Regions from separate parts of the Homo sapiens genome. Here all the other regions are linked to region 4. Evidence: promoter capture Hi-C in 16 types of primary human blood cells and fetal thymus (Javierre and others, 2016). All regions are on one chromosome and are shown on one strand. Each heading gives the region's core, a stretch centred on a gene start or on the middle of the fragment in contact. The rest is flanking DNA. Distances are from core to core; before and after follow the strand shown. Region 1 overlaps INPP5D (inositol polyphosphate-5-phosphatase D). Region 2 has its middle 14 kb from the start of ATG16L1. Region 3 overlaps ATG16L1 (autophagy related 16 like 1). Region 4 holds the start of KCNJ13 (potassium inwardly rectifying channel subfamily J member 13).

Region 1 (5,474 bases), core at 356-2,855, 400 kb after region 4:
CAGCGGCTCATGCCTATAATCCCAGCACTTTGGGAGGCCGAGGTGGGTGGATCACTTGAGGTTAGGAGTTCAAGGCCAGCCTGGCCAACACGGTGAAACCTTGTCTCTACTAAAAATACAAAAATTAGCCATGCATGGCGGTACACGCCTGTAACCCCAGCTACTCGGGAGGCTGAGGCAAGAGAATCGCTTGAACCCGGGAGATGGAAGTTGCAGTGAGCCGAGATCGCGCCATTGCATGCCAGCCTGGGTGACAGAGCAAGACTGTGTCTCAAAAAAAAAAAAAAAAAAAGAAGGTGGTACACCTGTATAGGGCACTTACCATGAATGAAGCTTGCAGGCTTGGAAGTTGCTCTGGGTGAGTCAGTGAGTGAGTGGTGAATGAGTGCGAAGGCCTAGGACATTACTATGCACTGCTGTAGACCTTACAAACACTGTACACTTAGGCTACCCTACATTTATTTTTTAAATTTTCTTTTTCCAATAATAAACTAACCTTAGCTTACTGTAATTTTTTATTTATAAGCTTTTTATTTATAAACAATTTAATTTTTGACGCTTTTGTAATAAAATGTAGCTTAAAATACAAACACATTGTACAGCTGTACAGAAATATTTTATTTCTTTATATTCTTAATCTATAAGCTTTTTTTCAAGTTTTAAAATTTCAAAACTCTCATTTACATTGACTTTTTTGTTGAAAATTAAGACGTAGGCTGGGCACCGTGGCTTATGCCTGTAATCCCAGCATTTTGGGAGACCGAGGTGGGTGAGTCACCTGAGGTCAAGAGGTCGAGACCAGCCTGGCCAACATGGCAAAACTCTTGTCTCTACTAAAAATACAAAAATTAGCTAGGCGTAGTGGTGTGCACCTGTAATCCCAGCTACTTGGGAGACTGAGACAGGAGAATCGCTTGAAACCTGGAAGCAGAGGTTGCAGCGAACCGAGATGGCGCCACTGCACTCCTGCCTGGAGCAAGGCTCCGTCTCAAAAAAAAAAACAAAAACAAAAACCATAAATGCACACATTAGCCTAGGCTGAAACAGGCTCAGGATGGTCAATGACATTATCACCCACCTCCACATCTCATCCCATGGAAGGTCCTCGGGGCAATAACATGGAGCTGTCGTCTCCTATGATGACAATGTCTTCTTCTGGTTACCTCCTGAAGGACCTGCCTGAGGCTATTTTATAGTTAACATTTTCTTATAAGTAGGAATACACTCTAATGATAAATAATATCGTAAACACGGAAATGAGTGACAGTTGTTTATCATTATCAAATATTATGTACTGAACAGAATTGTACTGTTATGCTTTTACACAGCTGGCAGTGCAGTGGGCTGGTTTGCACCAGCATCCCCAGAAGCATGTGAGTAATGTGTTGCGCTGTGACGTGATGACAGCTACAGCAGCACTACGTGATGGGGATTTTCCAGCTCCATTATAATTTTGTAGGACCTCTGTCCTATATGCAGTCCATTACTGTGGTACATGACTATTTGTGGAGCCCCACGGGTAATTCTCAGAGGCAGCTGATGCCGAGAACTGCAATGTTAAGAAGTAACTGTTTAGGCTGGGCACAGTGGCTCATGCCTGTATTCCCAACACTTTGGGAGCTGAGGCAGGTAAATCATTTGAGGCCAGGAGTTTGAGACCAGCCTGGCCAACATGGCGAAACCCCATCTCTACTGAAAATACAAAAATTAGCCAGGTGTGGTGGCGCACTCCTGTGATCCCAGCTACTCAGAAGGCTGAGTCAGGAGAATTGTTTGAATCCGGCAGACAGAGGTTGCAGTGAGCTGAGATTGCCCCACTGCACTCCAGCCTGGGCAACAGAGTGAGACCCTGTCTCAAAAAAAAAAAAAAAAAAAGGACTTAACTAACTGTTAGGCAGAATCAATGAAAACTAAAAATGCACCTATTCTATGATTCAGTAATTCCGCTTTGGTGTGTGTTCAAGAGAAATTTGTATATTTGTTCACCAAAAATAGGTATAAGAATGTTTAGCCGGGCATGGTGGCTCACGCCTATAATCCCAGAGCTTTGGGAGGCCAAAGCAGGTGAATCACCTGAAGTCAGGAGTTCCAGACCAGTCTGGCCAACACCGCGAAACCCGTCTCTATACAAAATTAGCCGGGCATGCTGATGGGCGCCTGTAATCCCAGCTACTCGGGAGGCTGAGGCAGGAGAATCACTGGAACCTGGGAGGTGGAGATGGTGGTGAGCCGAGACCATGCCACTGCACTCCAACCTCAGCAACAGGGCGAGACTCCATCTCAAAAAAAAAAAAAAAAAAAAAAATGAATGTTTATGGCAGCCTTGTTTGTAATCTTCAAAACTGAAAACAACCCTATGTCCATTAACAGTAGAGTAGATAAATGTGATACTTATAAACAATGGAACTTTTATAAGCAACGAAGTGGCTGAAGGAGTCCAACATAAAAGAGTATCTACTGAGTGAGTCCATTTATATACGTTCATATAAATTAATCAATGGAGATGTTAGTCACACTAATGCTCACCTTTAGGAGGCTCTGGTATTGACAAGGAAGGCTTATGAGGGAAGCTTTAGGATGATGGCGGTTTTCTGTATCTTGCTCTGGGTAGTGGGTAAGTGGGTTTATACAAACCTAAAAATGCATGGGACTGTACACTTATGGTTAGTACACTTTATGTAAGTTGTACCTAAAGTTTTTTTTAAAAAGTGAATGGTTCAGAAGTAGAGAGAATGAAAATAAAAACTTTTGTTTTTTTTTTTTTGAGATGGAGTTTTGCTCTTATTGCCCAGGCTGGAGTGCAGTGGCGCAATCTCAGCACACCACAACCTCCACCTTCTGGGTTCAAGCGATTCTCCTGCCTCAGCCTCCTGAGTAGCTGGGATTACAGGCATGCGCCACCATGCCCGGGTAATTTTGTATTTTTAGCAGAGATGGGGTTTCGCCATGTTGGTCAGGGTGGTCTCGAACTCCCGACCTCAGGTGATCCACCCGCCTTGGCCTCCCAAAGTGCTGGGATTACAGGCATGAGCCACCATGCCCAGCCTGAAAATAGAACATTCTTGAAAGAAAATTGGTAAAAGGAAGAAAAGAGAAAAGTAATTGAAGGAGATGACAGAGATAAGCTCTTTCAGGATGAGTTCCTTTATGTTTGTAGACAGAGAAGAAAGAGCTAGAACATGAGGGGATAAGGATATTGATAAAAGAGGGTTGTTATTGCCAGTTTACCTTGTCTATCCCACCTAATGGACATCTTGCTCATCATTGCAGCCTGAGGCCCTGGAGAGGGCTTGTCATATAGTATTAATAGATACTGTTTGAGTGATTGGATAAGTAGGTAGACGGGTGTGTGAACGGTCAATGGATGAGTGGATGGGTGCGATGGATGGATGGATGGATGGATGGATGGATGGATGGATGGATAGGCGAATGGATAGGTGGGTGGGTGGGTGGATGGATGGATGGATAGATAGATGGATGTGTGGGTGGGTGAATGGATGGATGGATGGATGGGTGGATAGGTGGATGGATGGGTGGATAGGTGGGTGAATGGGTGAATGGATGATAGCCATATGGTGGTAGTGTGGATGATGATGATGATGATGATGATGTGTGGTGTGAGGATGATAATGGATTGATGATGTGTGGGTTGGTGGAGGATGATAAATGATGATAGGTGGATGGGTGGATGGATGGATGGCTAGTCGGTGGGTGGATGGATGGGTGGGTGGGTGGATGGATGAGTGGATGAATAGGTGGATGGGTGGATGGATGAAATGGACAGGTAGTTGGATGGATGGGTGGATGGATAGATGAATGAATAGGTAGATAAGTGGATGGGTGGATGGATGAATGAATAGGTGGGTAGGTGGATGGATGGATGGGTGAATGAGTAAAGATGGGTAGATGGGGAGATGAAAAGGTGGACAGATGGATGAATAGAACTGGGGGTGGAAGCTGAAGTGTGTTATTAAAGTAAGTGACTGCAGAAAGTGAGCAGAGACTGAGCTGAAAATACAGGTGGGGGTTCATCTGAGTCAGAAAGAAAGTAAGAGAAGGTGAAGATACAAGGGATACTGAAGTAGTCAGGAGGATATGTGAGGGAATACAGCAAGGTGAGTTATCTTAGTCTAAAGAAGAAGGCGTGGCAGTGGAGTCTGGACTTGAGCCATGTGAAAAAAGTTTAAAGCCACCTACAGGGAAATTCTATAAAAAGCCAACAGCCGATGAATTTGAGGATTACAGAGGCCACCAGTTAATCTGTTCTTTTACTGATTAAAAAAATAATAATAAGAGGCATTTTTTAAAGCCTATGACTTTGATTTGCAGATGAAGTACAACTTGCCTTCCTGGTGTGACCGAGTCCTCTGGAAGTCTTATCCCCTGGTGCACGTGGTGTGTCAGTCTTATGGTGAGTTCAAACACTGGGGAAAGCAGAACAGGATCAGAGAATGGCACCAAGCTGGGAGGTGTGACTGCCCTAAAATCTAAGGGCTTCAGTCTGTTGATGTGTCAAAGGGAGGAATTCACTGTAACCCTAATCAGGCGACCTGGAAATGTTGATGCTTCCCTGCCTGTCTTGTGCTGCCACCTAATCCATATCCCCTGCTTTAGGAGACATTTGAATTATAGAGCACTTTTTTTCTTTTTCTTTTTGAGACGGAGTCTCACTCTGTCACCCAGGCTGGAGTACAATGGCATGATCTCATCTCACCACAACTTCTACCTCCTGGGTTCAAGCGATTCTCGTGCCACAGCCTCCCCAAGCAGCTGGGATTACAGGCTCCTGCCACCATGCCTGGCTAATTTTTGTATTTTTAGTAGAGACGGGGTTTCACCATGTTGGCCAGGCTGGTTGCAAACTCCTGACCTCAGGTGGTCAGCCCACCTCGGCCTCCCAAAGTGCTGAGATTACAGGCATGAGCCACCGCGGCCGACCCGGAGCACTTTTTTAAAAATTCAGTTTTATTTCTTTTGAAAAGAACATATTAAGTGTGAACCATATGAAAGTGTTTTTGTAGGTCAGAAATAGTTATTGGAAATTCATATGGCTCAAACTAATACATGTCGCAAGTGTGTACACATATATACACATATATATTTGGGGAGGTTTAACCATAAATTGAGTTAAATTGATTTTTAGAAGGCATAACATGTAATATTAAAATAAATAATTATGGAATAAGTTATCAAAACAATTAAGAAATAACTGTTAGCCAGGCACTGTGCCACGTACCTATAGTCTCAGCTGCTCAATAGGCTGAGGGGGGAGGATCGCTTGAGCCCAGTAGTTCAAAACCAGCCTGGGCAACGTAGACTCCATCTCTGAAAAAAATGAAAGAAAGAAATGACTGTTAACTCTTGACCCTCAAAGTTGAAGGTGCACTGAAGGAGTTCTTAATTGCCTGAATGCTTATTCTGAAAAGCTACTGATTAGTTCCCATTACTTACGAAGTGAGACCTTAAAAATCCAC
Region 2 (5,564 bases), core at 1,178-3,677, 460 kb after region 4:
CCTTGCTGGATTCTTTAGCTGTTAACATAAAGCCATGGTAACAGCTATCTTATTTCCCAAATTCAAAAACTCAACATTCAAAACAATCATTTTCAAAATTCTCTGAATTCTCTTGTTACTTTTTCTCCTTGAACTTCACTCACTAAAAATCAGGACAAAGTACAGTGTTTTTTTCTACCTCAACTAGAATAAAACCCACATTTACGAATATTTTTCAGGTAAGATATTCACTCGTTAAAAAAAAAAAAAAAAAAACTGGCCGGGTGCAGTGGCTCACACGCTCACGCCTATAATCCCAGCACTTTGAGAGGCCGAGGTAGGCAGATTACCTGAGGTCAGGAGTTCGAGACCAGCCTGACCAACATGGTGAAACCCCATCTCTACTAAAAATACAAAAAAAAAATTAGCCGGGAGTGGTGGTGTGTGCCTGTAATCCTAGCTACTCGGGAGGCTGAGGCATGAGAATTGCCTGAACCCAGGAGATGGGGGTTGCAGTGAGCCGAGATCGCACCACTGCATTCCAGCCTAGGCAACAGAGCGAGACTCTGTCTCATAAATAGATAAATAAATAAAAATGAAAAATAAAAAAATAATAACTTCTACCTGTAAAACAAGGGCTCACCCCAAATGGGATTTAGGTTTTTCCTTTTTAATTTTTAGCGGGAAAGCTGCTTAGAAGGTTGCTAATAGCTTTCCGTTTCTGGAGGTGGCCTCTTTGGAGCTGACTTTATTTACTCTGGGAAAGTTAACAGAAACGGGCTTTCTAGTTACCCAAAGGTAAAGCAAATTCCCACCCATCAACCTTGGAGAAGCTGTGAAATCACATCCCATGGGGAGGCAAGATTGTTGGGAGGATTGGAGAAGATTCCATCCTAGGCCTGGATGCAGGAGACCTGCCCTCCCAGCTGTGGCATGAGAGGCCACCGCCAGGGGTGGCAGAGAGGGTGGGCGGATCCCTCACACTGCAGTGTCATCCACCAGGACCCGAGAAGGGCTCTGCAAGGCCGCCCTCCTCCTGCTAGGGGCCCTTCTCCCGCTCCCACCTAGGACTCGGGGAGCAGCTCTCGGGCCTCTTCCCAGGACACACAGGAGTTCCCGTCCTCAGATCTTGGTAAAGGCAGCAGGAGAGGGTGGAAATGTCCTGCTTTTGCGTCTTTGCCATAAAATGATGTCTAAGGGGTCTTCCTGCTCTAAAATTCTAAATTTCCATTTCAGTCAAGGCTTTCTGCTTATGGGGAAGAGAAACTAGCTCCAAGCAGAGACAGAGTAACCTAACCCTAAGGAGAGCTCAGCCAGGCAGAGTGGCTCACGCTGTAATCCCAGCATTTTGAGAGGCTGAGGCGGGTGAATCACTTGAGGTCAGGAGTTTGAGACCAGCCTGGCCAACATGGTGAAACCCTGTCTCTACTAAAAATATAAAAATTAGCCAGGTGTGGTGGCACATGCCTGTAATCCCAGCTACTCGGGAGGCCGAGGCAGGAGAATCACTTGACCCTGGAAGGCGGAGGTTGTGGTGAGCCAAGATCGTGCCATTGCATTCCAGCCTGGGCGACAGAGCAAGACTCTGCCTCAAAAAAAAAAAAAAAAAAAAAAAAAAAGGAGCACTGATGAAGAGTCTAGCTAGCCAGGCCTCAGCCACATGGAGCTGGGAACAAGGTTGTCAGGCAGAGGGTGGCTCTTCTCTGGGCCCTGGTCCTCTCTGGACGTTTCCTTCTGCTCACCTGTTTCTTTCTCTGCCCAGCGTCCTCTGCCTATTCCTGGTTCTCCTTGGCTTTGTCTTGCCATGGTGCTGACTCAGCCCTTGACTGCTCCAGACCCAGAGGCCCGGCTCCTCACTCTCCCTTAAGAGAGGATTTAGGCCCAGTTAGGTGTCCACGGCTGGTCCAAAAAGTTCTTGGCCGGAAAGCTTCAGTCATGGGATAGAAACACAGCCACCCAGGCACATGACTTGATTAGAGAGAAAGACAAGTGGACTTGGCAAGGGTCAGGACCTCCAAAACATCAACAGCAGTGTTGGTGGCAGCTCCTTTCATTCCCACTTTCTTCTATTACTTGGGTTTCATCCAAACCTCTCTGGTTCTCAGAGAAGTACGTTCTAGGGCAGGGTTAGACATGAGAGATTTATTGAAGGAAGTGTCTGTGCAGGAAGATGGGGAGATTACAGGAGGAGGCTGGGAGAGCTGTCAGGCCATGATGCAGGTCTGACCCTGGTGAAGGAGAGAGGGAAGGAAGGTGAGGTAGGAAGACTCTCAGCCTGCCGCACATTCTAACAAAGTTTGGGCAGGGTTGATAGACATCTGTCTAAGTCAGTTCAGTCTACTATAATAAGATACCATATACTGGGTGGCTTATAAACAACAGAAATGTATTTTCCACAGTTCTGGAGCCTGGGAAGTCCAAGGTCAAGGTGCTGGCAGATCCAGTATCTGGTGAGAACCTTCTTCCTGGTTTGCAGATAGTAGACTTCTCACTGTGTCCTCACATGGTAGGAGGAGCAAGGCAGCTCTCTGGGGCCTCTTTTATAAGGTCCTCACCTCATGAATGGGTGCTGATCCCATTCATGGGGGCTCTTCCCTTGTGACCTAAGCACCTCCCAAAGGTCCCACTTCCAAATACCATCACACTGGGGATTATGGCTTCAAGATATGAATTTGGGGCAGGGGCACAAACATTCGGTCCATAGCAGCATCCTTGAGGCAAAGTTCATCAGAGGAGTCCCACGTGTCACAGGAGTCATTCTGCCTTAGCAGCCCTGCTGTGCTTCGTCATTGGTTGGGAGCAGTGGTAAGAAATGTGGACACAGCTTGAATGTGGTGGTGGATTTAGAGCACAGCATCAAGGGCTGTCAGGTGATTGTATTTCCCCCAGCAGGAGATCTGAGAGATACAAGTTCAAGGTCAACACACAGGCTCTTTTTTATGAGGCAGGAGAAGGAAGGCACAGATTGGTAAGCTTGCAGGCTATGGAGTCCACAGGCTGGGTTGGAATCTGCCTACCTCTTACCCATCATGTGCACCTGGACAAGTTACCTGTCTCCCTGAGCCTCACTTTCTTCCTCTGAAATAATAATAATGGCCATACCTATAAAGCACTTACTGTGTGCAAGACACCGTTGTCAGTATTAATTCATTTAATCCTGGGGCACAGAGTTTAAGCAACTTGCCTAAGATATCAGAGGTGATAAGTGCTAGCATCAGAATTTGAACCCAGAACCCAGGCTACATTGTCTTTGTGAAGTAGAGCCAGCAATAGCACCAACACGACTATGCTGTTGTGAAAACTGAGAAGAGAACAATTGTAAAGCATTTAGCCTCACACACTGTATACATTCAATAAATGTTACCTGCTGTTACTGGCATTACTAATTATTATTATAGAAGGTACAGACTGAGTTTTTCTTTCTTTTTTTCTTTTTTTTTTTTTTGAGACGGAGTCTCGCTCTGTCGCCCAGGCCGGACTGCGGACTGCAGTGGTGCAATCTCGGCTCACTGCAAGCTTCGCTTCCCGGGTTCACGCCATTCTCCTGCCTCAGCCTCCCGAGTAGCTGGGACTACAGGCGCCCGCCACCGCGCCCGGCTAATTTTTTGTATTTTTAGTAGAGACAGGGTTTCACCTTGTTAGCCAGGATGGTCTTGATCTCCTGACCTCATGATCCACCCGCCTCGGCCTCCCAAAGTGTGAGTTTTTCTTTAGTGGTTTCGAAGATACACACTTTTCATCCCAATGGTCTCTTCTGACAATAACTAGTTTCCTTCATATGGTGGGGAAAATGGATCCCACTGTGACAATGTAAAGTGATCCCACCTGCAGACATTTGCCTTGCTTTGGCTCTACGCTCATCAGATGTCTTCTGAGGATAACGTGGTGTTCTGTGCACACTCCCAACAGGGTAAAGGGGACACACCATTGATAGCCTACCCAGCAGCCATTTCCTGCTTCTTCCTTCCTGAGAGAGACCCAGTTTCCTTTAGATATTATTCTGGTTATCTATTGCTGCATCACGAACCATCCCCAAAACTGAAAACAACAATTCATTATCCTGTCTCACAATTCCGTGGCTGACTGGGCTCAGAAGGGTGGTTCTTGCTTGGGGTTTCTCATGTGGTTGCAGTCAGATGGCAGCTGGGGCTGGGGTCATCAGAAGCCTCCACTGAGCTGGACATCCCGGGTGGCCTCTTCATTCACGAGTCCAGAACAGTGGAAACTGGCTCAGTATCTCGGTATCTCGGTAACTCTCTCTCTTTCTCTCCCTCCCCCCATCCCGTGTCGTGTGTGTGTGTGTGTGTGTGTGTGTGTGTGTGTGTGTGTCTTTCTCTCTCTTCTTGCTCTCTCTCTCTCTCTCACTCACTTGCTGGCTCTCCACACAGCCTCTCCACATGACTATCTTGGGCTTCCTCACAGCATGGTGGCCTCCCTGCAGTCGGGCTCTGTAGATGCTGGCTGGTTTATCACAGAGCAAGCATTCCAAGAGACTGAGAAGGAGCTGCAAGGCTTCTTGTAACCCAGTTTTGAACCTTGTGCAAAGACGCTTCCTCCGCATTTTATTAGTTACATAGAAGCAGCCCAGACTCAGTCCAGGGATTACCAGGAGGCATGGTGTGGCAGACTGGGAGTAAGGGGAGCTTTGGAGAGGAACTACCATGGATACCCCTTTCCCACTCAGCCACAGGCCTCTGGGGCAGCCAGCCTCACCCTCCAGCCTGAGGGTGAACAAGATGGGTCTAAAGGTGATGCCTTCCCCTTGCCAAGAATGAGCATGTGACCCTGTTTTGGTCAATGAGATATAAGGGGGATGTCTGCTGGGCTTCTGGGGAAGTTTTCACATTCCTAAGAGAGAGTCTTCTTCCTCAGGTCATGCTCGGATTTGAATAAGTTTTCTGGAGCTGCCCTGGGCATTTTCCATCAGCCTGAGGATGACACCATCCCTAAGAAGGGCAGAGCAGACAGGTGGAAAGACCCAGGGCCCTGGATGCCACAGTGTAGCCCATCCACAGCCAACCCTGAAGCCCACCCTACTTTGGGACTCTCTGTTATCTGAAATAAGCCAAGACCACGTCTCTCTCTCTCTATATATATGTGTGTGTATGTGTATACATATATACACATACATACATATATGTGTGTGTATATATATACATATATATCACTCATATATATACACACATACATATATGATATATATGAGTAATATATATGTGTGTACATATATATGAGTGATATATATGTGCATATATATGATATATATAGATATATAGATATGTATGATATATATAGAGATATATCATATATATATAGATAGATATGTATCTATATATATATAGATATATATATCACTCAGGCTGGAGTGCAGTGGTGTTATCACAACTCACTGCAGCCTCAAGCTCCTGGGCTCAAATGATCCCACCTCAGCCACCCCTTAGCTCTCCTATGCACAGAGGGCTGTACAGTAGATGGCTGTCTGAATTTGGCCTGCGGGCCATATTTCGCTGATCCCTGGTTTAAAATGTCAAGGAGTAAATACTGCTGACACAAGATGCTGACTTAAGGCTGCTTGTCCCTCTAAT
Region 3 (4,957 bases), core at 493-2,992, 500 kb after region 4:
CTGTTAATAGTCACTCCCTCCGTGATACTTCAAGCATTTTATTTTTTTTTAGTCCCAAGCAAATGTAAATATCACATATTCTCTTCCCCAAGTGACCTTTTAGACAAGTGATTATCTACTTAACAATCTCATATTGATAGTCTATGTTTTCTAGTCTTTCTTTTCCTTCTCTATTATAGAAATTTCCAAACATACGCAGTATCTCTTCCCCCCCACACTTATGCTGGAGCAATTTGAAGCCAATTCTAGGCATTATATTTCATCCAAAAATATTTTACTGCCCATAATCTTCTTAAGAGAGTATAGTGAATTTTTCGATTATTCCCTTTTCCCATTCTAGAATGGGATGCTGAGTCTCACTCTGTTATCCAGGCGGGAGTACAGTAGCACAATCTCAGCTCAGTGCAGTCTCAACCTTGGGCTGAAGCAATCCTCCCACCTCAGCCTCTTGAGTAGCTGGAACAATAGGTATGCGCTACCACACCTGGCTAATTTTTGTTTTTTAGTTTTTAAGAGACGAGGTTTCGCCACGTTGCCCAGGCTGGTCTTGAACTCCTGAGCTCATGCGATCTGCCCACCTCGGTCTCCCGAAGTGCTGGGATCACAGATGTGTGCCACTGCACCCAGCCAGGATGCTTTTTTACTTGGTTTTCTTTCTTATCCTGAACATAAGTACCATCTTTTGCCAGTGTTTATGCCAGTATTAGAAATTTCCCTGTGAAGAATATAAATTCTCTTAAAATAACGACTGTCATTTTTATCTAAGGCTTATGCATTAACAGGCACCATTCTGGGTTGCAAAAACCTTTCTGGAGCTGAGCAAACTGAGATTTCAGAAACTTGGCAGAGGTCACACTGCCAGTACACACTAGTCCCATAATGTTTCCAGAAAGAACTACATAGAATTCCATTATAACACAGATTGATGTTTTTGCCATCTACTTATATTAGGACTCATTGCGAAAGCTGTATTATGAGAGGCCATGTGCTATACATTATTTAAATATGTAGTATTTAATATTATTAGTAAATTAGTAATTACTAGTAGATCAATAAGTAGTATTAACTCAGTCTGGACCAAAATTAATTCTAGGTTTACTTTTAAACTATTAAGATAAATATAGGCCATTATTGTTAGAACAGATGAAATTAATGCAAGGACCAACTTTAAGCAGTCTACACAGATTTTGAGTACTTTTTGAGAAGGTTGCACTGCACTCTAATGCAACTGTAACTAGAAGAATAAAATGATAATAGAATCTTAGTTGACCTGGGCTAGGAGTCCAGTTTAGTTTATGATTGGCTCCACCTGTCTTTAAGGATGAGTGTTTCCCCATGAATTAGGCATTTGGAGTGTTCGCGCATCTTGAGCTCTTGGGATGAGAATGACTGGGTTTGACACAGGGTGCTTGTCTTGCAGGATGCACATGATGGGGAAGTCAACGCTGTGCAGTTCAGTCCAGGTTCCCGGTTACTGGCCACTGGAGGCATGGACCGCAGGGTTAAGCTTTGGGAAGTATTTGGAGGTGAGAGCCTGCTGCATGTTCTCAGACTGAAAACTTGAGATGATGCACCCTTGCACTGCAGAAAGAAGCTGTGTTGCTGGCATCTGGTTGACCTTGCTTTCAGGCACTGTGAATTGTTCATTTTCTCAAAACATACATTTTATGTAAGGGATCGTTTGACCAAAGCATCATACATCTCAGTTATTCTTTACTTCCGAGTGGATGTTTGCTCTCATTTTCTAAGTAGTGATCAGAAAATACTGTTAAGTTATGGATATGTTTATGTTAGTAAGGTTTCTGTAGTTTTTCTCAAGTATATACCAATCAGAGCATCTTGCAAAATAGTACCGTTTTTATGAGGAAAATAAGTCTTATGATCATGGATTCTACAATTAAACTATACATTAAGCTGTGGTTGATGCATTTAATGACAATTGCAATAGCCTAGGGAAAAAATGACTGGAGTCATGTCTAAGCTTGAGGAAACAGAGGCGTACTACCTAGAAAAGATGTATTTAACAGTGTATCAGACGAGGGCCCTTAGATCAAGACTCAGTCTCTTTGGACTTTTAGGATGCTCAGAGATGGATGGCATTAAAACAGAAAATGGAAGTTAATGAAACCATCTCTTAGAAGTCTGAAGCCGGGCATTTCCCAGTTTTGACGTTTTCGAGATTCAGTTAAATATGCGTGTATTTTTACTAAAGTAAGGCCGAAGAATAAGGCTTAAGGTTTTTAACGGGAACCACTTTGCCAAGTGTCTGTAGCTGCGACACACACATTATCCCTGTCGAGCAATAAATAGCTCCAAAGTGATTTTGTCTGTTAATTCCCCTGATCATCACAACAGCCCTGTGTGGTTAGAATGGTAGAGATTGCGCCATTTCACAGATAAAGGGAATAAAACTCAGATACTACGTGATTTACATGGCTAGTGAATGATTTCTGTGGTGAGGGAGTGGTGGAACTAGGACTAATGCAGGCCAGAAGACCTGAAATTCCATGCTCTTACTGTAGCCTTCTCTAGCAACTGAAAAATCTTAGGGGTACTGCTTTTAAGGTTTATCAGAGCAGGAGCAACTTATTAGAATAGGTTATTAGTAAAGCACCCCTCCTATCTGCCCCGGCCTTTGATTTTCAGGAAAGGGACTCAGCAGTTAGAGCCCATTGAAGCATACTAAAATTTACTATTTTGCCCAGAAACATTTAGCTTATGAATGATAATGGCTGAAGCAATTAGAAAACAATAATAAAAACAAATCATAAGAAATTTTCACTTTGTGAGGCTGGGGCAAGAGGATTGCTTGAGGCCAGGAGTTCAAGACCAGCCTGGGCAACAAAATGAGACCCTGCCTCTACAAAAAAAATATTAAAAAGTAGCTGGGTGTGTTGGCATGCACTTGCAGTCCCAGCTTCCTGGGAAGCTGAAGTGGGAAGATCAATTGAGCCCAGGAGTGAGAGGCTGCTGTGAGCTCTGATCGCATCACTGCACTCCAGCATGGGCAGCAGAGCAAGACCCTGTGTCTTTTAAAAAAGGAAATTTTAGGGAATTTGATTTGCAAAATCAAAGTAAACAGTCTGTTTTGAGTATGCCATTGAGATTTAAATAAAAATAACACTAGAAATATTTTCGTTTTACTCCTTGGTCAGTAAAAACACCTATAAGAAAATTAGAGGTACCAACCTTTAATTCTAGTAACCTTTTTGCGGCTGAAAAGAAACGAACATCAGTTGAAGTTAATACTGACATAATCTGTGCCAGCACATAATTTGTGTTAATAAAATCAAGTTTCTACCTAATCTACAGAAATAGCAGAATGTGTGGCGGCATTTCTTACAGTTTTGTGTAGGGCCTTTCTTCTACAAACAGCTGTTTCAGTCTACAAGATTTTTCGTCTTGGCAAATATTTATTTACTGAATCTTGGAAGAGGCCAAGTTCAAGAGACCTTTTCTGAAATAGTTTGGGGGTCCTGTTTTTTCATCCTTTTAGATTATCAGAAGAATCACACTTTCTACCCAGTGGGAACATCTGTTTTTGCTCATTTTCTCCAAAGCAGAAGTTCCACTGGGAATTATACAAATGCTGTTGACATAGCACCCCCCGCCCCCAACCCCGTATCTTGTAGATAATTAAGAGTTTTAATACGGTCTTTGTTCTTTTGAGATCAATCTCTCATATTGAATAGCATTAATTTTTTGGTCACTTCCTACATTTCGGCACTGTGTTAAGTGCCAAGCAAATAGACCAGTATTTTAAGCATAAGCCAAAGAGATATTTCTTAGAATTTGCAGTAATATTTTTATCTGTGAAGATTTCATCTAAAGGAAAATCTTAGCGAATATTAGCCTTTTTCAACCCTTTTGAAAATCTTAAGAAAGCTAGGATCCAGAAAAAGCCATTAAATATGCTGTATTTTGCAAGTGAGTTCAGAGGAGAGGTTCATCAACCAGGTTAACAGTCTGTGGCCTGAATGTACATGACAGCTTCAAACCAGTATTCGTGTCACCTTGATATCTGGCTCCAATCATTATTTTTACTACTTAGAAGTACTGAATAAGATAAAAATGTGTTGAAATGTTTTCTGTTCTGTGTTCCTCTTTTACAAATATGATTACAATGGTTCCTTAATTTCTAGCTTATCTGTGTGGATCATCCTTAAGTTACCCTTTTAAAAGGAATTTAATCAAATCATTGAGATTTTTGCTCTTCTCAGTTTGGGATTGCCCGTTACTGAAATTTCCGTGTGGGTGGCCAGGCTGTCTGGAAGCAGAGTAGATAAAGTGGACAGTGGCTCTGTTGGTGAGGGAGAGCTGTGTAGAGGGATGGGAGGTGCTGGCACTTAGTTCGCTTGCCAGGATCTTAGATTCATGGAGATAAAGTATGAGGGCAAATTCCAGAAACTCCAAACTAGCTTGACTGGTATTCTATATGAGTAGTCATTTAAATGTAACTAACACAATTTCTTTTCACACCTTAATGAAAATTACCACACCATGGGTCCAGAAATTGACTGCCAGTTTCTACAAAAGTGGTAGTTAAGTTGGCACAAATGCTGATCAACCCAAATATTTATGTATGTAAGTTTTTAAAATGTACTGAGAAATAGTGGAACTGAATAAACCCAGTCTCTAGTTTGATTGACATGGTTTATAAATTCCTACACTTTGTTTTTCTAAAGAGAATGAATAACTACATTTCTTAAAGAACAGAACACACATCCAAGATGCTGGGGTCAGTGTCCACTTAGACTTGCATTCCTCTTAGAAACTAGCAGTATCTTTTATCTCTCATGTTCTCTTTGTCCTGCTATTTTGTTTGATTCTGTAAAGGTACAGGATAGCTATTGTTTTAGCAGTGTAATTGGCTTCCATTGTATTTCAGTGCCCTGTTTTAATGTATTTATTGGCTTTATTTAACTTCCCATCATCCTAATTTTTTCTTTTTATACAG
Region 4 (5,181 bases), core at 493-2,992:
CCTATTTTATGAAAGTTCTAAAATTCCTTACTTAGAGCCTTTCTGTATAGACTGTAGCTAACAAAATTCATCATTCTCATTTGGGCTTTTTCAGGACTGTTGTTACTTCTTACCTACAACTTTTGTAGCACTCTTACTCTAGGCTCTTTACAATTGTATTTTTTTTCTCTTGCAACTAAATACATGGAAAAACCTGTGAACAGGGAAGTCAAAAGGCTGATAATCGGAACAGTTAAGCAGCATTTTTTTTTTTTTAACCTAAGACTGCTGGATTTGGTTTGGATTGTGTTGGCAAGTGGAGTAATATAGAGAAGGAAGATTGATTTCTGATTCCCACTTAACCAATTACCCTGAATAACTATTCTGTGGACTCTTATAGTCAGTGTGGTTTAGTGTAGAGAACGCAGGATAAGGGGATATGGCCTTCAGGCTCTAGCACTGTTGGTTACATAGCTGTGTCATTTTGGGCAAACCACTCAATCCCATTGGCCTGGCATCCTTAGATTAAAACAAAGAAAGTGAAAAAAGAGGGAATTATGATAATAAGATTTCTTAAAGCTCTACAGACTTATGTAAACAAACATATTTCCACTTCCTACAAAGGATACAAGTTTCCTATATGATTTCTTTTATTTCTGTATAGTTTGATGTCTGCTCGTATGGTTTAAAAAATTATACTATTGTTACCTGATATTTAAGTCTCATCAGCTGATCCCAATAGAAAGTGAGGTGGAAGGTTGGGAAGGTTTGCTTCTATTGCTGTGTGTGGGCTGTAAAATATTTGCCCATTTATAAATTATTTGGAGGAAAAATAGTACCTATTAAAAAATGATAGGCAGCTTCACTGATCATCAGAATTCATTCTACTCATTGGGTTGTAGCACTTAAAAGTATGTATTTTCTGTTGCCATGATAAAAAATAGTATAGTTCATACTGAGGAGTTAAGATAAAGGCTATAACTAACAAACATTAAATGAAGATGGCATTACTATGTATTTGTTCATGTCTGGTGTAAATACTTTAAGACTATATTGAAAGTCTTATAATGATTTCTCCTGCCCTCCACAATTAGGGCAAACACTATTGAGTTCTAACCCTGTTATATAAGCTCAGAGATTCTATTTTAATTTCTCAGTTGCAGAAGTATCTATTAATTTCCGCAATAATTCCATGCTTAAAAATTTACGATTAGGATACTCATCACTTTCTTCTTAGATTACAGAAGTAAAAACAAAGTGGCTTATTCTTTTGGCATTTGTTTTTTTATGCTCATTTTGGGTTTTTGAAATTCCTTCCAAAAGAAAAAGACTTTTTTTTTCCTCAAGCCACTGAATTTTTTTTCCTAAGGCCTTTATCCTCTACTGATATATTGTAATAGAAAATTAGTATACATTTAATAAAACAGTTAAGAAAATTTCCAGTAATACATTCAATATGGCTGTTATTGCATTTTTAAGATTTAAGGGAAAAGAATATAGAAACCTTACTATCCTACACTATAGATAATGTCTTTGTTTTAAAAATCTGTTGGAAGTAATCTAGCTCTGTTGCTATTTGCCAGTCAGTTTCTTTCCCTGTTTCCCATAAGGAAAGAAGAATGGATATTATTGCATGTACTCACCAGTTCTTTTGCTGGGTCAGCCTTTATGCCAAGGTAGGTCTTAAGGAAATTTACAGAGTCTGCCTTTTTGATCAGATAATTTTAATCTACAAGTCTAGTTTGTAGGTTCTCTTCTTGGACTGGTTTTACAGCTTACATTCCTCTGTTTATAATGTTGTGGGGGCTGGTTTCAGCTGAGGTTGATGTGATTGGTCACTTAGCCTGCAGGGGGGCCAATTAGCTCTGATCATGTGGAAAAGAATGCTGGTTTGTTAGGAGGTCTTTCTTTACCCAACACAAACCTTAACAACTCTGGAGAAAGCCTCCAGAACTGACTTGGAGAAGGGGTGCATTTTTTCCCTCTAATCAGGACCGGTCTTTAGTAAGTTTGCATAATCTTACTTAAGAGTTTTTTTGAAAGTTCAAAGGGATAAAATTCCCTGCAAGATTTTTCAGCCGTCTTTCCTTATATAGCATGTTGAAGTGTGAGATATTTCCTTTACTAATCTTTTTTTTTTTCCACCATGTCTTTGGGGAAGATTTATTTGGATAAGGACTTATAGGCATAAATTAATGCATTGATTTTCTTAGTTTTCTTCTCATGTCTCATCAGAATGGCTACCATTAGTTCCAGAACTAGTAATATAGATAATTACGTGAAATCTTTTATTTTTTTGGTTAGGAAACAAACTTTTTTTTTTTAAAGGCTGTATACAAAGACCTTGAATAGGAATAAAATTAATTGTTCTGTACCTGATACTTTAAAAAATGCACACCTGTGGGAAAGAACCGAAGAATTTTCTTAAGGCTTATTTTAATGATGTTTAGAAGATGTTTTCCTGATCAGTGTGATGAAGTATAGTGTTAATAAAACATAGTGTACAGTGTACAGAAAATGTAACACAACATTGAAATAGTGTTTAGCTGGAAAATGTGATCCAGCTTGTTGGAACCCTGAAACGTGCTGTGGTATGGCTTTGTGCAGTGCCTTAGTGAACAGTACTTTTCTCCTCCTCCGTTAGCTGCTGATTTTAAAACTTTGACCAAATGTCACATGTAAGAGGATCTGAGAAACAAAGACTGTGATTGTTCAAAGTAAAATCTTGGAAGGCCTGCTGGGAAAATTATTAATGTAGACCAATATAATGCTACTTAGAAAGTGAAATCCGCCTTTGTAGAATCCTCTCCGTCCCCCCCCCGCCCCACAATTTAAAAAATATATTAATTCCTTCTTTGTTTTATTAGTACCAAATACTTCAACACAAGTTCAGACACAGCATTAGAAACACTGACCTTCAGAACTAGGGAAGGTAAAGTATAAAGAAGGATTTGTGGTGTGATGCTCATTCCCTGCATGTACTGGTAGGAATTATAATGTGTATCAATTCCCAGCTAACAAATTGCAGAAAAACAGAACAACACAACAACAAAATACTAGAACAAGTATAGTATAATACTGCTTCTAGAAAGCAGAAGCACTTGAGTGTATCTGTCATGTGTTTTGAATATACATTGTATATTTTTTATTTTCATTTTTTTTAGACATAGAGTCTTGCTGTGTCACCCAGGCTGGAGTGCAGTGGTGTGATCACAGCTCACTGCAGCCTCGACCTCCCAGGCTCAAGTGATCCTCCCACCTCATCCCCCACCCCCTGCAGTAATGCCACCACATCTGGCTAATTTTTTATTTTTTGTAGAGGCAGGGTCTTGCTGTGTTGTCTAGGCTGGTCTTGAACTCCTGGGCTCAAGCTGTCCTCTCAATTCAGCCTCCCAAATTCCTGGGATTACAGGCATGAGCCACTTCACCTGGCCTGAGAATACATATTATAGTAGGCAAGACAGTTAAGGATTTTATTAAACTTAAAAGTCTTTTTCCATAGTATACTTGGTTTCAATATATTGAGACAAAAATGATTTGGCAAAATGATCTTCAATTAAGAAAGAAATGTCTTAAGTGAAGCTAATTTCTGGATCTCTACAATTTGAAAGTCTTGCTATGGTCTATAAACAGTGATTCCTACTGCTGTGAATATTGTAGACCAGCTCTGAAGTGCCCACTTAGGAGCATAGCTCTCCCATTACAATAGCCTGAGCATTTAAAGTCATTTCTGGTTGAAGTTACCAGGTTAGCTGGTGTAGGGGAGAGAGAAGACCTTCTCTCTTCCTTTTGAAGGTTTGATAATTGAGTCTATAATATAAAGCAACAGTAGGTAGACTTAACAGAAGAAAAACAGTTTACATCCTTATGCACAAGAGTCCCACAAAACATGAGACTTGAGGAAGGACCAGATGATTGAAGTTCTTATAGCATTGGAATAGGGATGTGGAGGTCCTGGGGGAAGGTATTGACAAGCTGTGGGAAAATGAGGGGAGGAAATGTATGATGAACAAAAGTTGTCTAGTTATTGAGATAAAGTCTTTCAGGTATTGAAAATTAACTTGAGGAAGAACGCTACTAGACCTTTTAATCTCTTATGTGATAAGGTTAATCTTCCCTGATTGATGAAATTCTAGGGAGGGGACAAAGGAATTTTTTGAGATAAGGGGGCATCAGAGAAGGCCCCTCCCTGTGCTTGCTGTTCCCTAAGTTCTCTCAGTTTGCAGTAATGAGCATACCAAAGCAGTATATTTTGGGGTGGTGTTTCCTGGGGCTCCTTCACTGAGATGACACGGATATTGGCACAGATGATATGCCACCTTCACCCAGAAACTCATGGTCCTTCCCATCTAGACAATTTGTTATTTCTGTTGTAGCTGTTTCACAGTAAGGTAATTGGAGATGGCTCTAAAACATTTCTTCGGTGAATGAACATAAATGGTAAATACCTGTTCATAGATTGATGGATTGTGTCTCCAAAATTATAATGATTAAATTAAACAAGGTACCAAGACCTGGTTAATTATCCTGTATTAAATCTAGTCCTCTGTCCCTAAAGGCATTTGATTTTCTTTCTGACTGAAATAATTCACTATATATCTATAAATGTATCACATTTTTCTTGAGAACAGTAAAATCTTCAGTTGGAGTGCGATTTCTGGCCTATGTAAGTAGGTAATCTCACAGCTTTAAAACGTTAGCTCTGGTCTCCATGTTCTTGCTTACATAGTGTACTTGGCTTTCTTTTGAAGATGCCTAGTCTCTTTCCATTTCCACATGTCCAAGCCAACTACGAATTGCCTTCCCACAGATTTCAGGCAGCCTCTGGGTATGTACCAGCAGACAGCTGAGCATGAGGGCTGTAGGGTTGTGGTACATATTCAGATGGCCTGAGGACCTTTTTCAGAGATTCTGATACACTGCAGTTTCTCCAGTCTCTGCTGTTTTTTCAGGACTCTTGTTAACCAGCTGAGCAGGTTATTTATTCCTCAGGGAGAAAGTCGTAACTCTCTGGGTACAGAAGTTAAACTGCTCTGTCCTAGCCACCCTGAGTTTTGTTTATAAGTAATTGTAGGGGAGAGGGGTGGTAAATATCAACACTTGAGTGGGATGCCCTTTCACCATTTTCTTTGGTGTTAGATTTTTTTTTGGTGTTGATCAGATAATATATATCTGAACAGAGTAATACAAAGTCACTCCTTA

What was found. Contacts are between HindIII fragments. The CHiCAGO score rates a contact against its expected background, and 5 or more counts as called.
Region 1: a contact is called between a fragment that was not itself captured here and the fragment with the promoter of KCNJ13 in region 4, in 4 of 17 cell types (naive B cells, total CD8 T cells, total B cells and 1 more). The highest score is 6.5, in naive B cells.
Region 2: a contact is called between a fragment that was not itself captured here and the fragment with the promoter of KCNJ13 in region 4, in 6 of 17 cell types (endothelial precursors, total B cells, naive CD4 T cells and 3 more). The highest score is 6.3, in endothelial precursors.
Region 3: a fragment that was not itself captured here is called in contact with the fragment with the promoter of KCNJ13 in region 4 in 5 of 17 cell types (M2 macrophages, monocytes, M0 macrophages and 2 more); the score reaches 10.9 in M2 macrophages.

The regions. Positions count from the first base shown.
Region 1 is chr2:233,172,936-233,178,409 of GRCh38, forward strand. It overlaps INPP5D (inositol polyphosphate-5-phosphatase D), which reads left to right. Exons shown (of 27, transcript NM_001017915.3): 18 at 4,330-4,411. Among named protein-coding and RNA genes, the nearest start is that of ATG16L1, 76 kb to the right of the region's middle. The HindIII fragment of the contact is 1,925 bases long and covers 644-2,568 here.
Region 2 is chr2:233,235,231-233,240,794 of GRCh38, forward strand. No RefSeq gene overlaps it. Among named protein-coding and RNA genes, the nearest start is that of ATG16L1, 14 kb to the right of the region's middle. The HindIII fragment of the contact is 1,046 bases long and covers 1,905-2,950 here.
Region 3 is chr2:233,276,148-233,281,104 of GRCh38, forward strand. It overlaps ATG16L1 (autophagy related 16 like 1), which reads left to right. Exons shown (of 18, transcript NM_030803.7): 10 at 1,421-1,526. Among named protein-coding and RNA genes, the nearest start is that of ATG16L1, 27 kb to the left of the region's middle. The HindIII fragment of the contact is 474 bases long and covers 1,506-1,979 here.
Region 4 is chr2:232,774,823-232,780,003 of GRCh38, forward strand. It overlaps KCNJ13 (potassium inwardly rectifying channel subfamily J member 13), which reads right to left and starts at 1,743. Exons shown (of 3, transcript NM_002242.4): 1 at 1,623-1,743. The region is part of intron 8 of GIGYF2 (GRB10 interacting GYF protein 2); the gene reads left to right. The HindIII fragment of the contact is 5,243 bases long and covers 1-5,181 here.